Regions from separate parts of the Homo sapiens genome. Here regions 2, 3 and 4 are each linked to region 1. The links are contacts of gene promoters, found by promoter capture Hi-C in blood cells and fetal thymus (Javierre and others, 2016). All regions are on one chromosome and are shown on one strand. Each heading gives the region's core, a stretch centred on a gene start or on the middle of the fragment in contact. The rest is flanking DNA. Distances are from core to core; before and after follow the strand shown. Region 1 holds the start of DRP2 (dystrophin related protein 2). Region 2 has its middle 36 kb from the start of CSTF2. Region 3 overlaps NOX1 (NADPH oxidase 1). Region 4 holds the start of NOX1 (NADPH oxidase 1).

Region 1 (3,619 bases), core at 413-2,912:
CTTCCAACACTGCCTTTTCACGGAGGTTTCCTTAGAAGGCCCTGAGATTCTCTGGGATCATCTCCCCACGCAAACCTTAGAAGGAAAATCACCTGAGGCTTGTGGTTCCCACAGGCCTTTTAAAAGGTGATTTACCTGAGGGCCTTTCATCTAGAAACAAGGATTCTTTGGAAAAGTCAGGAATTAAGATGAACTAGACATAGAGCTTTTTTAAGGCTTTTGTTCTTTTGACAATCAAAAAGAAAACATTTTTAAAAAGTATGTTCTTTTCCAGACAGCATGCACCATGCTTTCAACGGAAGCAGGCAGCAGCTGCTGCTGACGTTCTCCTCTACCCCACTCCACCCCACCCCAGCCCAGCCTTGCCACCTGCTTAGACCCAACACCTGTGAGGCCTGGCTCGACCTGCCTACCAAAGGAAGGATAAACATTAACTACCCATATAGTCTCAGGCCCACTTACTAGGCTGGGGCACTTGGTCCGATGCTGGGAAAGGTGGTGAGAGCAGAAGGTGATAGGGTGTTGGACTCCAAGAGAAGCAAGCCCTATTTGAAACCACTCCAAGCTATGCTTTCAAGAGTGGAAAGATGCCTCCTGATTACAGGGTGTAGAAAGGAAACCAGGGGAGAAGATAAGGGGGAAAAATGTCACAGGAAAAACAACAGAGCCAGGAAGTAAATACAGAGATGAGATGAGCCCTTCAGCTCCAGGCTCTTAGGTCAGAGCCTGGTTTACTTCAGCAAAGAACTCCTGTGTCCTGTCTGCTGGCCAGAATACTCATTTGTTCAGGGAACCTGCTCCAAGGTCCCATGTTTCCTCTCTCCTCCCTTGTTAGCCAAGGCTTTCCACACACCTTTGCTTCCCTCCTGCCAAGAAGTATACCCTTGGACAAAAAGCATGCTATTGAGAACCTAAAATAAATAAATGCCCCTCTTTTCTCAAAGAAGCAAACTGTGTACCTCCTTCTTATTCATTTTTAGACCTTAGTTGCTCAAATCGGCTTGAGTTTCTATTCTTGGGCATCTTTTTTTTTTTCTTTATGAATCTAAATGGTGACTACTTTATTGTGGGCATTTTTAAATGCAAGTTTTCCACTAAAGGCACATGCAAGCAGACCGCAGGCAGGCACGCGTACACACACACACACACACACACACACACGCACACACACACTCATTTTCCCTCTCTCCCCCCACCCCTCGCCCGCCACACAGTACCTCTGGAGCTTCCCCTCCCTCAGTCATTTCCCCTCAGCCAGCTGAACAAGGCCAAGGCTTGGAAATAATTTTTCTGTGGCCTACCTTCTGATTCCGTCAGGTCTGAGAAGCAGGCGGCAGCTGTAAGCTGGGAGGCCGGGGCTGGGCTGCCTCTGTGAATCAGCAAAGAAGTCCCTGAGACAGGGATGCCGACAGCTGCTGTATGCACACTCTCCCTCTGTCTCTCCCACTTCCCTGTCTTCCTTCTTCTCCTCCTCCTCCCCTCTCAGAGCTGCTCTGTGTTGCTATGCAATCATATCACCAGGACTAACAGCATCATTCCGACCTCAGGCAAAAATACCCTTGACTGGGCAAACGCAGGAAGAGCAAGGACAGTTTTGTAAAACTACCAGAGATGTGGCGGCTCTTGGAGATGTCAATTCATTAGAAGCAGAGGAGGAAAGCGGAAGAGCCTGAGAAGCAGAGGGGGAGAGAAGGAGACAAGGAGAGGGGGAAGAGGGAGAGAGGGGGAGAGGGGGAGAGGGGAAGAGGGGGAGAGGCTTCCACTGGGGAGGAGGAGACAAAAGAGCCCTGGAGATCAATCAGGCTGCTGAGCGAGCAGCCTGGACCCCAACTTACACCGATCTAGCCCACAGACAAAACCAACTTTGGAGCCAGCAGCTGGCAGGGGCCCCTCGGTAGCCAGTCCAGGATTCTGCTTCTGTGTTGAGGGTTGAAACACTGTGGTCTGGAATCATCACTGGTACTCAAGGTACAGTTTTGGGCTCAGGACAGTCTGCCAGTCACCCCTAAGTCTCATCCTCACACCCTCTTAGATCTCACGTGTAGAAAAAGCCTCAACAAATTGGGGAAACAAAATGGATCTTGAATAATTCAGGAAAATACAGCTCCTCCATGACTCACCTCAATGACTACTACCCCAGGCACCTTCCTGCTTTTGTCCATACCAGCCCTTACTCTTTTAACTGTCACGCTTGTTAAAGAGAAGAGGGTATGAGCTCCAAACACCCTCAGAGACCTGGGAGAAGCCACTGGCAGGATAGATAAGATTATATCCCTTTACCAAGTGCCCAGCACACAGTAGGTTACTTAATAAATATATGTTGAATGAGTAAATTGAATGAATAGGTGGATGAATAGCAGTCAGAAAGTCCCCATCCTCACCCTCCTACACAAACATACAAAGATTTAAAGCCCCAGCAGTCCCAGGCCACAGCAAAGGATAAAAGCAGCTTTCTTCTTTCCTCCCTCCATCTCTGGGAACAGGGTGTATATGGAGAGAGACAAAGACTGGTTGGGAGTGGGTTGCTTAAGTTCACTGATTTGCCTCTAAAAATTTTATAAGCTCTGATGGCACTGGAACTTAGAAAATACTTCCTAGGGTCGGGCGTGGTGGCTCACGCCTATATAATCCCACACTTTGGGAGGCCGAGGCAGGCGGATCACAAGGTCAGGAGTTCGAGACAAGCCTGACCAACATGGTAAAACCCCCGTCTCTACCAAAAAAATACAAAAATTAGCTGGGCGTGGTGGTGTGCGCCTGTAATCCCATCTACTCAGGAGGCTGAGGCAGGAGAATCACTTGAACCTGGGAGGTGGAGGTTGCAGTGAGCCAAGATCGCACCACTGCACCCAACCTGGGTAACAGAGCAAGACTCTGTCTCAAAAAAAAGAAAAAAAGAAAGAAAGAAAGAAAGAAAATACTTCCTAGGACTAGTATTTACATAGGATCTAGGACTAGTATTTACATAGGATCTAGGACTAGTGTTTACAAAGTGTCTAAAGGACCCAGAATTACTGTTTTTTTTCAGTTCCATTTTAAAATTATTATGTGATTTTTTTATGAAGTATTTTTATTATTTATTTTTAATTGACAAATAATAATTGTATATATTTATGGGCTCCAGCGTGATGTTTTGATCTATGTATACTATGCAGAAAAATTCAGCCCAGCCAATTAACATATTCATCATCCCACCAACTTATCATTTTTTTTGTAGCAAGAACATTAGAAATCTATTATTTTAGCAATTTTGATACATATAATACATCATTAATAACTGTGGTCATCATGATGATCATTACTATTATTGAAAACCTTCAGCTAGAAAATAGTGTGTATATATATCTTTTCTTTTGAGGTGAAATTTTAAAAACTTAAGTTGCTAGCTTCAGCAAAAGGCTAGAAATATGGCCTGATCTCCTCTTCAAAATAAGCGACATAGGAACCAATTGCCCCTGTCATCAAGCTTTCAGAGCTGTGTAAGTAGCCCTTCCTATCTGGTCCAAATAGCAATAGGCAGGCCCCCATGCAGGTGCAGAAAAGGCCTTTGATTTCTGAAGGGGCTTTTGAAAACACATCCGGCTTCTCAACCTACATATCCGCAACAGAACATTTCTCA
Region 2 (3,619 bases), core at 624-3,123, 440 kb after region 1:
TAGTGCTAATTCTAGTCGTTTAAAAGAATTTGCAAGACAGAATTCCAAACCAGTTTCTTACCTAGTGATGGGGGCCCAAGCTGAAGATTGCTCTCTGCATATGCAGAAGCAGACAGGCTCGCCTTCCTTGATGGAAGTGAGTGGAAACGCCTACAAAAAAAGGAATTTTTGTTGTTTTTGTTGTTTTGTTTTGTTTTTAACAGCAAATAAACTTCAGACCCCCAACTGGAAAATGTTGGAAGATCAGAGATCCCTGGAAAGAGGTCCTCGACTTTGGCAAATTGTCCTCTCAGTTTGGGCTATAAGGTGACCAAGCCGGTGCCAAGCACTGAGAGGTGAGCTACTGCAGGCTGGGTCACTTTCACTCAGGATCCCTTCGTGGTTACCAGATGTCAATTGAGAAAAATGACAAGTCTCAATCATTTTAGGGGATTTATTTGCCAAAGTTAAGGATGCACTCAGGAGACAGGTCTATGCCTGTCTCCGAAGATGATTTTGAGGGCTCAAAATTTAAAGGGGAAAGGGTGCGATACTGAGAAGTACACAATTTTCATGTAAGAGGAGGGTAGGGAAAAATAGTCATTCATGCCTTTGTCTGGCTCAGGGAATCTGCATTAATAAGATGACATAAAAGAGGCAGAGGAAAAATGTGGGGAATATGCATTTTACATAAGATAACATGGACAAAATGGGGCAGGGGAACACTCAGATGTGCATTTATGTCTAGTGCGCCGGGGGCGACTGCACCTGTAAAGATAAGCTATCAATTTGCATTGCTACGGTGAAATTTTAACAACTCACTAGGAATTTCCTTGTGGGCAAAATATGGCGGAGGCATGTAGCTTTTCATCTTGTAGCCATCTTATTGAGGACCCAAAAGTGGGAGGCAGGTTTGCATGACCCAGTTCCCACTTTGACTTTTCCCTTTCGCTAAATGAGTTTGGCGTCCCGAAATTGAATTTCCTTTCACAGATTACATGGGGAAAGGAGGGCCTGGAGCTTCCTACTCTGCTATCTTTCAGATGTCACTCAAAAATGTATTCTATCACTTTTATAAACAGGGACACCAAAGCTCAGAGAGTGACTTGTACAATATTACATAATTAATAAAAATACAGCTGGGATTTGACTCTTTTTAATTTTTAAATTTTTATTTCTTTAAAATTTTTCAGGTTTTGTGATTTTTTTTAAAAAAGAAGCTTAGTATCTTGGAGTAATTTTAGATTTGCCAAAAAGTTGCTAAGATAGTGCGGAGAGTTCCCGTATCAGCCCACTTCCCTCCCTTTGGCCCTACACAGAGTTATTGTTTTTATTATCATCTTAGATTAGTATGGTACATTTGCTACAAGTAATAAACCAATATTGATACATTATTATCACTAAAGTCCATACTTTATTCAGATTTTCTTAGTTTTTATATACTGACTTTTTCTGTTCTAGGAGCCAGTCCATGATACCACATTGCATTTAGTTGTCATTTTTCCTTAGTTTCTTCTTGACTGTGACAGTTTCTAAGACTTGTTTTGATGACCTATTGAGGAGTACTCCTCAGGTATTTTGTAGAATGTCCCTCAATTGGGATTTGTCTTACGCTTTCCTCATGATTAGAATGGGATTATAAGTGTTTGAGAGAAAGATCACAAAGGTAATATTCCATTCTCATCACACCATATCAAGGCTTTGCTCAGCTAACCAAGGTAGTGTTTGCCAGGTTTTTCCACTATGAAGTTACTTCACCCCTTTTCCATACTCTATTTTTTGGAAGGAAGTTACCAAGTCCAGCCCACACTTATGAGGGTTTGATGGGGATTAAGTGCCACTTCCTGGAAGGCAAGTATCTATATAAATTATTTAGAATTCCTCTATAAGGAAGAATAACTTATTTTGTTGCTCAAATTGTTCCAACTTTGTCCATTGCAAGCTCTTTCAGGCTGGCTCCTGTGTCCATTTAGCATGCTCCCATAATTTTGTTTTTTGAGTACTTTCTTAAGTTGCCTCTAAATTTCATTCTAAACACCTATCTACCTCAGTTCAGTTCCCTTTACCCAGTACATCATGCCTTGCTTTGAACAGAAAAATTATAAGATATGCTAAAAAGAGAAAAAAAACCACAGTCTTGAAGAAACAAAGCAAGCACTAGAACCAGACTCAGATGTGGCAGATATTTTGGAATTATGGGACCAGAGATTTAAAGTAACTATGATTAATATGCTAAGGGTTCTGTCTTAGTCTGCTTGGGCTGCTATAACTTATACTGTAGGTTGCATGGCTTAAACAGCAGAAATTTATTTCTCACAGTTTTGGAAGCTGGGAAGTTTAAGATCAAGGTGCCAGTAATTTGGTTTCTGGTGATGGCCCACTTCTTGACTTGTAGATGGCCACTTTCTTGCTGTGTCTTCGTATGGTAGAGAGAGAGAAAACTGGCGTCTCTTCCTCTTATAAGGGCACTAGCCTTATTCAACTAAGGCCCTATCCTTATTACCTCATGTAACCTCTGTCACCTTCTCACAGCCCCTATAAATGTAAAACAGAAAACTACAAAGCTTCTAGAAGATAACATAGGAGAACATAGAGGTGACCTTGTGTTTGGCAATGAGTTTTTAGATACAACACACAAAGCACAATCCATGAAAGAAAAAATTGGCAAGTTAGACTTCATCAAAGTTAAAACCTTCTGTTTTATGAAAGACACTGTTAAGTAAATGAAAAGACACGACAAAGACTGGGAGAAAATATTTGCAGAAGACATATCTGATAAAGGACTGTTATCAAAAATATATGAAGAACTCTTAAAACTCAATAAGAAAATGAGCAACCCAATGAAAAGATGTGCAAAAGATCTGAATGGACATATGCCCAAAGAAGATATACAGATGGTAAATATGCATATGAAAAGATGCTCAACATATATGTCATTAGGGAATTGCAAAATTAAAACAACAATGAGATACCACTCCACACCAATTAGAATGGCTAAAATCCAAAACACTGATAACACCAATGTTTGTGAAGATGTAGAACAGAAACTCTTTCATAGCTGGTGGGAATGCAAAATGGTACAGATACTTTGGAAGATAGTTTAGCAGTTTCTTACAAAACTAAATATGCCTTAGGCATTTACCTCAATGAGTTGAAAACATATGTCCACACAAAATCCTACACAAAAGTTTTTGTATCAACTTTATTCATTATTGCCAGAAATTAGAAGTAATCAAGATGTCCTTTAATGATGAGTAAATTTAAAAAAAACTGTGGTATATCTATACAATGCAATATTATTCAGTGATAAAAAGAAATGAGCTGTCAAGCCACAAAAGACCCGGAAGACCCTTAACTGCATGTTGCTGAGTGAAAGAAACCAGTCTGAAAAGCCACATATTATTGTGATTCTAATGATATGATGTTCTGCAAAAGGCAAAACTATGGATATATTAAAAAGATAAGTGGTTGTGAGGGCTTTGGTGTGGTGATAGCAAGTGGGGAAAAGATGAATAAGTGGAGCACAGGGCATTTTCAGGACAGTGAAATTATGCTGGATGATACTGTAATGATGGATACATGACATATTAATACATTTGGCAAAACCCATAGAACTGTATAACACACAGAGTGAACACTA
Region 3 (3,619 bases), core at 679-3,178, 380 kb after region 1:
GCCAACATAGTGAAACCTTGTCTCTACTAAAAATACAAAAAATTAGGCCGGGCGTGGTGGCTCATGCCTGTAATCCCAGCACTTTGGGAGGCCGAGGTGGGTGGATCACGAGGTCAGGAGATCGAGACCATCCTGGCTAACACGGTGAAACCCTGTCTTTACTAAACATACAAAAAAAAATTAGCCGGGTGCGGTGGCGGGCGCCTGTAGTCCCAGCTACTTGGGAAGCTGAGGCAGGAGAGTGGCGTGAACCCAGGAGGCAGAGCTTGCAGTGAGCCAAGATCGTGCCACTGCGCTCCAGCCTGGGCGACAGCGAGATTCCATTAAAAAAAAAAAAGGTGAAAAGAATTAGCTGGGCATGGTGGCGGGCACCTGTAATCCCAGCTACTAGGGAGGCTGAGGCAGGAGAATCGCTTGAACCCGGGAGGTGGAGGTTGCAGTGACCCCAGATCATACCATTGTACTCCAGCCCGGGTGACAGTGCAAGACTCTGTCTCAAAAAAAAAAAAAAAAAAAAAACACATAGTTTCCATATGACCCAGCAATCCCACTCCTTGTTATACACCCAAGAGAAATGAAAATATATGTCTACACAAAAACTTGTACATGATGTACATAGCAGCATTACTCATAATAGCCCCGAAGTGAAAACAAGCCAAGCATCCATCAATAGATGAATGGATGAAGCAAATGTAGTATATTCACATACTGGAATATTATTTAGCTATTAAAAAAAAAACAAAGTACTGAATCATGCTACAACATGGACAAATCTTGAAAACATCATGCTGAAAAACACCAGACACCAAAGGCCATGTATTGTATGATTCCACTTATGTGAAACATTCAGGATAGGCATACCCACAGAGACAGAAAGTAAAGTGATTGTCTTGGGTAGGACAGGGTAGTTGGGAGGAAATGAGGACTGCTAATGTGGATGGGGTTTCTTTGCGGATGATGAAAATGTTCTGGAATTAGATAGTGGTGATGGTTGCATAACTTTGTGGCTGTGCTAAAAAGCACAAATTGCACACTTCAAAGGGGCGAATTTTATGGTATAGAAACTATACCATAATTATATTTTTAAAAAAGAGGGGGAGAGAAAGGTATGAGAGAAGGAAGAAGACGGTGAGACCCAGAGCATAGTTGGAAAGATTAGCTTTGGCAAGAAAGAACACTACCTCTCCACTAGGAGAAATTTTGAGGTAGGGATAAGCTCACAGTGGATGGGTTTAATGGGAGCTAATACATATGTACTTGCTATGTGCCAGGCATTTTTCTAATTTATTTACATGTTCTTATTTAATCCTTAAAACAACCCTATGTGGTAAGTACTATTTTTATCCCCATTTTACAGGTGGGAAAGCTGAAACAGAGAGAGGTTAAGAAATTTTCCCTTGTCGGACATTGTGGCTCACGCCTGTAATCCCAGCACTTAGGGAGGCTGAGGCAGGCGGATCACTTGAGGTCAGGAGTTTGAGACCAGCCTGGCCAACATGGTGAAACCCCATCTCTAATAAAAATACAAAATTTAGCTGGGCATGCTGGTGCGTGCCTGTAGTCCCAGCTACTCAGGAGGCTGAGGCAGGAAAATTGCTTGAACCTGGGAGGTGGAGGTTGCAGTGAACCGAGATTGTGCCACTGCACTCCAGCTGGGGGACAGAGCAAGACTCCATCTCAAAAAAAGAAAAGAAAAAAGAAAAAAAGAAATGTGCCCAAAGTCCCACAGGTGGGATAAATGTCAGAGCTGAGATTTGAGCCCAGACAACCCAGACAGACTGGCTGCACAGTCTGGCACTTAGCCACTGCACTGTCTTATGTCTGTCATCTGTGTTCTCAAAACAGGGAAGGCTGAGTGCTGAGAGTGTTAAGGGCTGAGAGCATATTTGGGGTTTGTGCGCAGAAAAGGTTAAAAAACTACCATGAAGAACGTGGGAGTAAACAACCGAATTTTTATTCAAGGTTCTTGGAAGTAGTAGAGGCCTAACAGAGGCAGTTTCTCCATTCTGTCATTGCTGCATTCTAGCCCTTACTATTGTTCTGTTCCTACAGGTCTGTAGTGGGAGTTTTCTTATGTGGCCCTCGGACTTTGGCAAAGAGCCTGCGCAAATGCTGTCACCGATATTCCAGTCTGGATCCTAGAAAGGTTCAATTCTACTTCAACAAAGAAAATTTTTGAGTTATAGGAATAAGGACGGTAATCTGCATTTTGTCTCTTTGTATCTTCAGTAATTTACTTGGTCTCGTCAGGTTTGAGCAGTCACTTTAGGATAAGAATGTGCCTCTCAAGCCTTGACTCCCTGGTATTCTTTTTTTGATTGCATTCAACTTCGTTACTTGAGCTTCAGCAACTTAAGAACTTCTGAAGTTCTTAAAGTTCTGAAGTTCTTAAAGCCCATGGATCCTTTCTCAGAAAAATAACTGTAAATCTTTCTGGACAGCCATGACTGTAGCAAGGCTTGATAGCAGAGGTTTGGTGGTTCAGAGTTATACAACTAATCCCAGGTGATTTTATCAATTCCAGTGTTACCATCTCCTGAGTTTTGGTTTGTAATCTTTTGTCCCTCCCACCCCCACAGAAGATTTCTAAGTAGGGTGACTTTTTAAATAAAAATTTATTGAATAATTAATGATAAAACATAATAATAAACATAAATAATAAACAAAATTACCGAGAACCCCATCCCCATATAACACCAACAGTGTACATGTTTACTGTCACTTTTGATATGGTCTTATCCAGTGTGAACAGCAATTTATTCTTATTTTTGCTCATCAAAAAATAAAGGATTTTCTTCTTCACTTGATGAATGAGTCTTTTGTTACTTCTTTTTGGGCTCTCCATTTGGGAAAGAAAATCTAGAAAGTATGCTCATTGTAATTGAAATTGTATTATAATTGCAAGTCAGCTATACTGTCATCTTGTATTATTCTGTTAAAAGCGATTGTGAAAACTTGAACTCCATGTTAGGATGACTTATTTAGTCAAGAGGAGCTCTTTATCACTATTAAGGGAGTTTATTAATGTCTAGTTTAAAAAATAACAATTTATAATTTTCATAGATTTTTGTGGACTCCTACCTATATCGCTAAGGAATCATTCAGCTAATAACATAAGCAAAATGCCTTCATTCTCTATCAGAATGCTTTTTATTTCTGCCATCTACCCAACCTCGGCCTACAAGGACCACACTGGCTCTGGGATGTTAGTCGTCACAGTGAATCCCTAGAAGGAGAGAAGCCCAGGGCTCTTAAGAGAGAAACCTCACACTTCATTGTGCCCAGACAATTCAACTCATTATAGATTAGAAGAATGGTTGTACTGAATTAGCATTATATTATCTATTTTTTCTACCATTAAGTGACCACGAATGAACAAATGGTTGTTTCTAATAGTTTAGGAACCTCTACGGCTTGAGGGATAAAACTGTTTTTGGTTTTTTTTTGTCACTAGTCTGAGCACAATAAAGGTAGGTCATGAACTCATGGTGGCTAATCATGTTTCATTTATTACAACAGTAAAACAATACTGATGGTTGTTTACATAGGGAGGGATACCACTGCTGTTGCCAATTTGTTCACCCGGATTTCAGCTAATTCAGGTTTAATAAGGCTTTGG
Region 4 (3,619 bases), core at 555-3,054, 350 kb after region 1:
TCCATATTTAAAAGTAGTAAATTGGATACCATACATGAAAATCAGCTCCAGGTGGATTCAAAACATAAATGTAAAATGCAAAAATATAAAATTTCTAGAAGAAAATATAAAAGAGTATCTTGATATCTGGGTAGTGATGGATTTCTAAAACAAGACATAAAATGCATAAATCATAAAAGAAATGACTGGTAATCAGAGTGCATTAAAATTAAGAACTTCCATTTATCAGAAAACACTATTAAGAGACTGAAAAGACAAGCCATAAACATAAGCAATAAAAGATTAGTATAAGATTATAAACAGAACCCTAAGAATCTAAAAGCAAAAGAAAAACCAATAGAAAGATAGACCAAAAAGTAGAATAGGCTCAGAATAGGCTCTTTTAAAAAGAGAAAACTCAAATGGCCAGCAGTTGAATTAAAAGATGCTCAAACTCATTAGTAATCAGGGAAATGCAAATTAAAATCATAATACGATAGTTTTCCACACTTACTTGAATTATAAAAACAAAAAAGTCTGGAAAATACCAAGGGTTGGTAAGCATGTAGAGGAAGTAGAACTCTCATTCATAACTCTCTGTAGTATACATTTAGGTGGTCACTTCGGAACGGGTTTGGAATTACACAGCAAAGTAGAATATGTGCAAATCTCAGGACCCTGGAATTTTACTCCTGGGTATATACCTTAGAGAAACTGTAGCATATGTGTGACATTTGATCAACATTGTTCCATCATCATATCCATCAGTAGTAGGATGAATGAATACATTAATGTATATTCATTCATGCAATGGCATATTAGATAGCAGTGTAAGTGAACCGCAATTACATGTACATGTATGAATCTCAAAAACCCAATGTTGAAAGAAGCAAACCACAGAAGCATACATACACACTGCCAGGTTTCATTTACAAAAAGTTCAAAAACAGGAAAAACTAAACAATATATTGCTTAGGGATGCAATTATAGTTAGTAAAAATATAAAGAAAAATAACAGAATGATTACCCCAAATTTCAGGATAGTGATTACATCCGGTGGGGTAGAGGAGGGGAAGAAGATAGATGTGATCAGGGAGGGAAATACAAAGAGCTTTAAGATACTGGAGAAAAATAGTCTATTTTCTTTAATCTGAGTAGTGAACACATAGATACTTATTCCTTAAAATTATTCTTTAAGTTACATATGTATGTTTTATATACTCTTCTGTGTATATTTCACCATTTTAGAAAAGGGAAAAAAAATCAGTGCCCAGAGCTGAACACACAACTCTAGTAAATCTATCATACTAGAAGACAATCATCTCCATTCTTTTGAGTGCTCTGCCTCTGTTTATTTTGAACCAAAGTGCACTTTTATACTTGTTAAATTTTCTCTTGCTCTATTTGGCCCTTCTTTTCACTTGTCCTTCCAGCCAGTCAAGTTCTCCCCAAAGCCATCATCATATATGTCAACCACAGATCATCCTCCAGGGGAACTGGTATGCTAAAGTTTCTGAGCTAGCCAGGCTGAAATCCAAATGGCAGCCGGCAGATGTGGCAACAGTTTGAAAAGTGCACTTTGAAACAGCTTCCTTACCACACACGCTTCCCTCCCTACTTCTCCTGAAGTAATCTGTTTACAGACCCAGACTAATAATCTTTTTTATGAGAAACTTTAGCAAATCTTTTATCTAGGAAGGCAATGCTTCACATTAGGTCATGTTGATAAGATGATGAGAGAGAATATTTTCATCCAAGAATGTTGCTATTTCCTGAAGCAGTAAAATCCCCACAGGTAAAACCCTTGTGGTTCTCATAGATAGGGCTGGTCTATCTAAGCTGATAGCACAGTTCTGTCCAGAGAAGGAAGGCAGAATAAACTTATTCATTCCCAGGAACTCTTGGGGTAGGTGTGTGTTTTTCACATCTTAAAGGCTCACAGACCCTGCGCTGGACAAATGTTCCATTCCTGAAGGACCTCTCCAGAATCCGGATTGCTGAATCTTCCCTGTTGCCTAGAAGGGCTCCAAACCACCTCTTGACAATGGGAAACTGGGTGGTTAACCACTGGTTTTCAGTTTTGTTTCTGGTAAGTGATGTTTGACTTCCTATTAATTAGGAAGGATTAAGGAGAAATCATGTTTTTTAATATTTGTAAAGCAATTTGAAAGAGAAAGATGATTCCATGCCGATTATTGGGCTCATCAAGACCAGTTAGTTAAAAAATACAACTGTGGGTCAGATGAGAGGACAGAGGCAAATAACATGCAATTGTTCATGTTGTCAAATCACAAGTATTTGGAATTTCAATCTGTTTTCATTTTCTGTCATCTCCCTTTCTCTTCCATCTCACTTCTAACTACTACCATGAGTGCTGATTTCTCTCTATCTTTCCTATACTGGTCCCATCAAGATTTCAAAAAGTCACTGAATGTTTGAGATGAAAGTGATCTTAGAGATCATCTGGCCCAGTACTGACCACTAGAAATATAGCAAACCACATAATGTAATTCCTAAATTTTCTAATACCTACACCGAAAAGGTAAAAATAAACAGGTGAAGTTAATATTTAACAATATAATTCATTTAACCCAACATATCAACAAATCCTTTCAGTATGTATTCAATATTGAAAATATTAAGAAGCTAATTTACATATTTTTATTTTTACTGAGTCTTTCAAATCTGATGTGTATATATACCCACAGCACATCTCAGTGAGGACTAGCCACATTTCAAGTGCTCAGCAGCCCCATGTGGGTAGTGGCTGTGGCATTGCATAGTGCAGATGTAAACCAACTTATTGATTGTACAAAGGAAAATAAGACCTAGATGTCACACAATGAATTGACTGAATTGGCATCACTCGAACCCAGCTCCCCAATGACGTTCAGGCCAGAACCCCTTTATCACCCTTTGTATGCACAATCCCTTTCTCCTAACACTCTAACACCTCTCTCCACTCTCATTCTTCCATTTCTGAGCCACAGTTGAGCCTGGGGCTCCCTGTGTCCTTTCTCACTTTCCTAGATCTTCATTCATTACTCTTTCTCTTTTCTCCTGTTTTGCTTTTGGGTCCCACAGGCAAAACAGAAGAGAGAAGGTGTGATGCTTCTTTTTATTCCTGTCTACCCCCCCGCCCCCCGACCAGGTGCTCCAGGGAAAAATATGTGGAGTTTCCCTGGAGGGTTGTTTGTTTTACATTTAACAAAAGTGCTTATTTTGTCAGGTTATCCCATGACATATTTTAAATGCTCAATGCCTTATATTGAGTTCCTTTTGCACTATAATGGAAAGAACACTAGTTTAGGAGAAAGGGAACCTGGCAAGTACTTTGAATTCTGCTACTAACTGGGTGATCTCGATCAAATTATTTATCCTCTCTAGACTTCAGGTCCTGTGGGTGTGTAGGTGGGGGGAATTGGGCAGGGGAGGGGAGCAGGGGATTAATAAAGTGACTAGATTAGATACAAATATAAGGGTGTTTCTAGCTCTAAAATCCACATTTACCTGCATTTTTTCCCCCTCTCTTATTTTTTGCTGGGAGAGTTTACCAGCTATGATGGTGACTCACATTTAACTCTCTAGCTTTGAATTTTCATCCCCCACCAAACCAGCTGGCAAGCTTAGACTTCTCATT

The links. Contacts are between HindIII fragments. The CHiCAGO score rates a contact against its expected background, and 5 or more counts as called.
Region 2: a fragment that was not itself captured here is called in contact with the fragment with the promoter of DRP2 in region 1 in 1 of 17 cell types (endothelial precursors); the score reaches 6.6 in endothelial precursors.
Region 3: a contact is called between a fragment that was not itself captured here and the fragment with the promoter of DRP2 in region 1, in 1 of 17 cell types (naive B cells). The highest score is 6.3, in naive B cells.
Region 4: the fragment with the promoter of NOX1 here is called in contact with the fragment with the promoter of DRP2 in region 1 in 1 of 17 cell types (naive CD4 T cells); the score reaches 5.3 in naive CD4 T cells.

The regions. Positions count from the first base shown.
Region 1 is chrX:101,217,829-101,221,447 of GRCh38, reverse strand. DRP2 (dystrophin related protein 2) reads right to left here and starts at 1,662. Exons shown (of 24, transcript NM_001939.3): 1 at 1,302-1,662. The HindIII fragment of the contact is 8,546 bases long and covers 1-3,468 here.
Region 2 is chrX:100,782,086-100,785,704 of GRCh38, reverse strand. No RefSeq gene overlaps it. Among named protein-coding and RNA genes, the nearest start is that of CSTF2, 36 kb to the left of the region's middle. The HindIII fragment of the contact is 1,344 bases long and covers 1,202-2,545 here.
Region 3 is chrX:100,842,512-100,846,130 of GRCh38, reverse strand. It overlaps NOX1 (NADPH oxidase 1), which reads left to right. Exons shown (of 13, transcript NM_007052.5): 13 at 2,053-2,807. The coding sequence ends at 2,179. Among named protein-coding and RNA genes, the nearest start is that of CSTF2, 24 kb to the right of the region's middle. The HindIII fragment of the contact is 6,474 bases long and covers 1-3,619 here.
Region 4 is chrX:100,872,544-100,876,162 of GRCh38, reverse strand. It overlaps NOX1 (NADPH oxidase 1), which reads left to right and starts at 1,804. Exons shown (of 13, transcript NM_007052.5): 1 at 1,804-2,068. The coding sequence starts at 2,024. The HindIII fragment of the contact is 11,783 bases long and covers 1-3,606 here.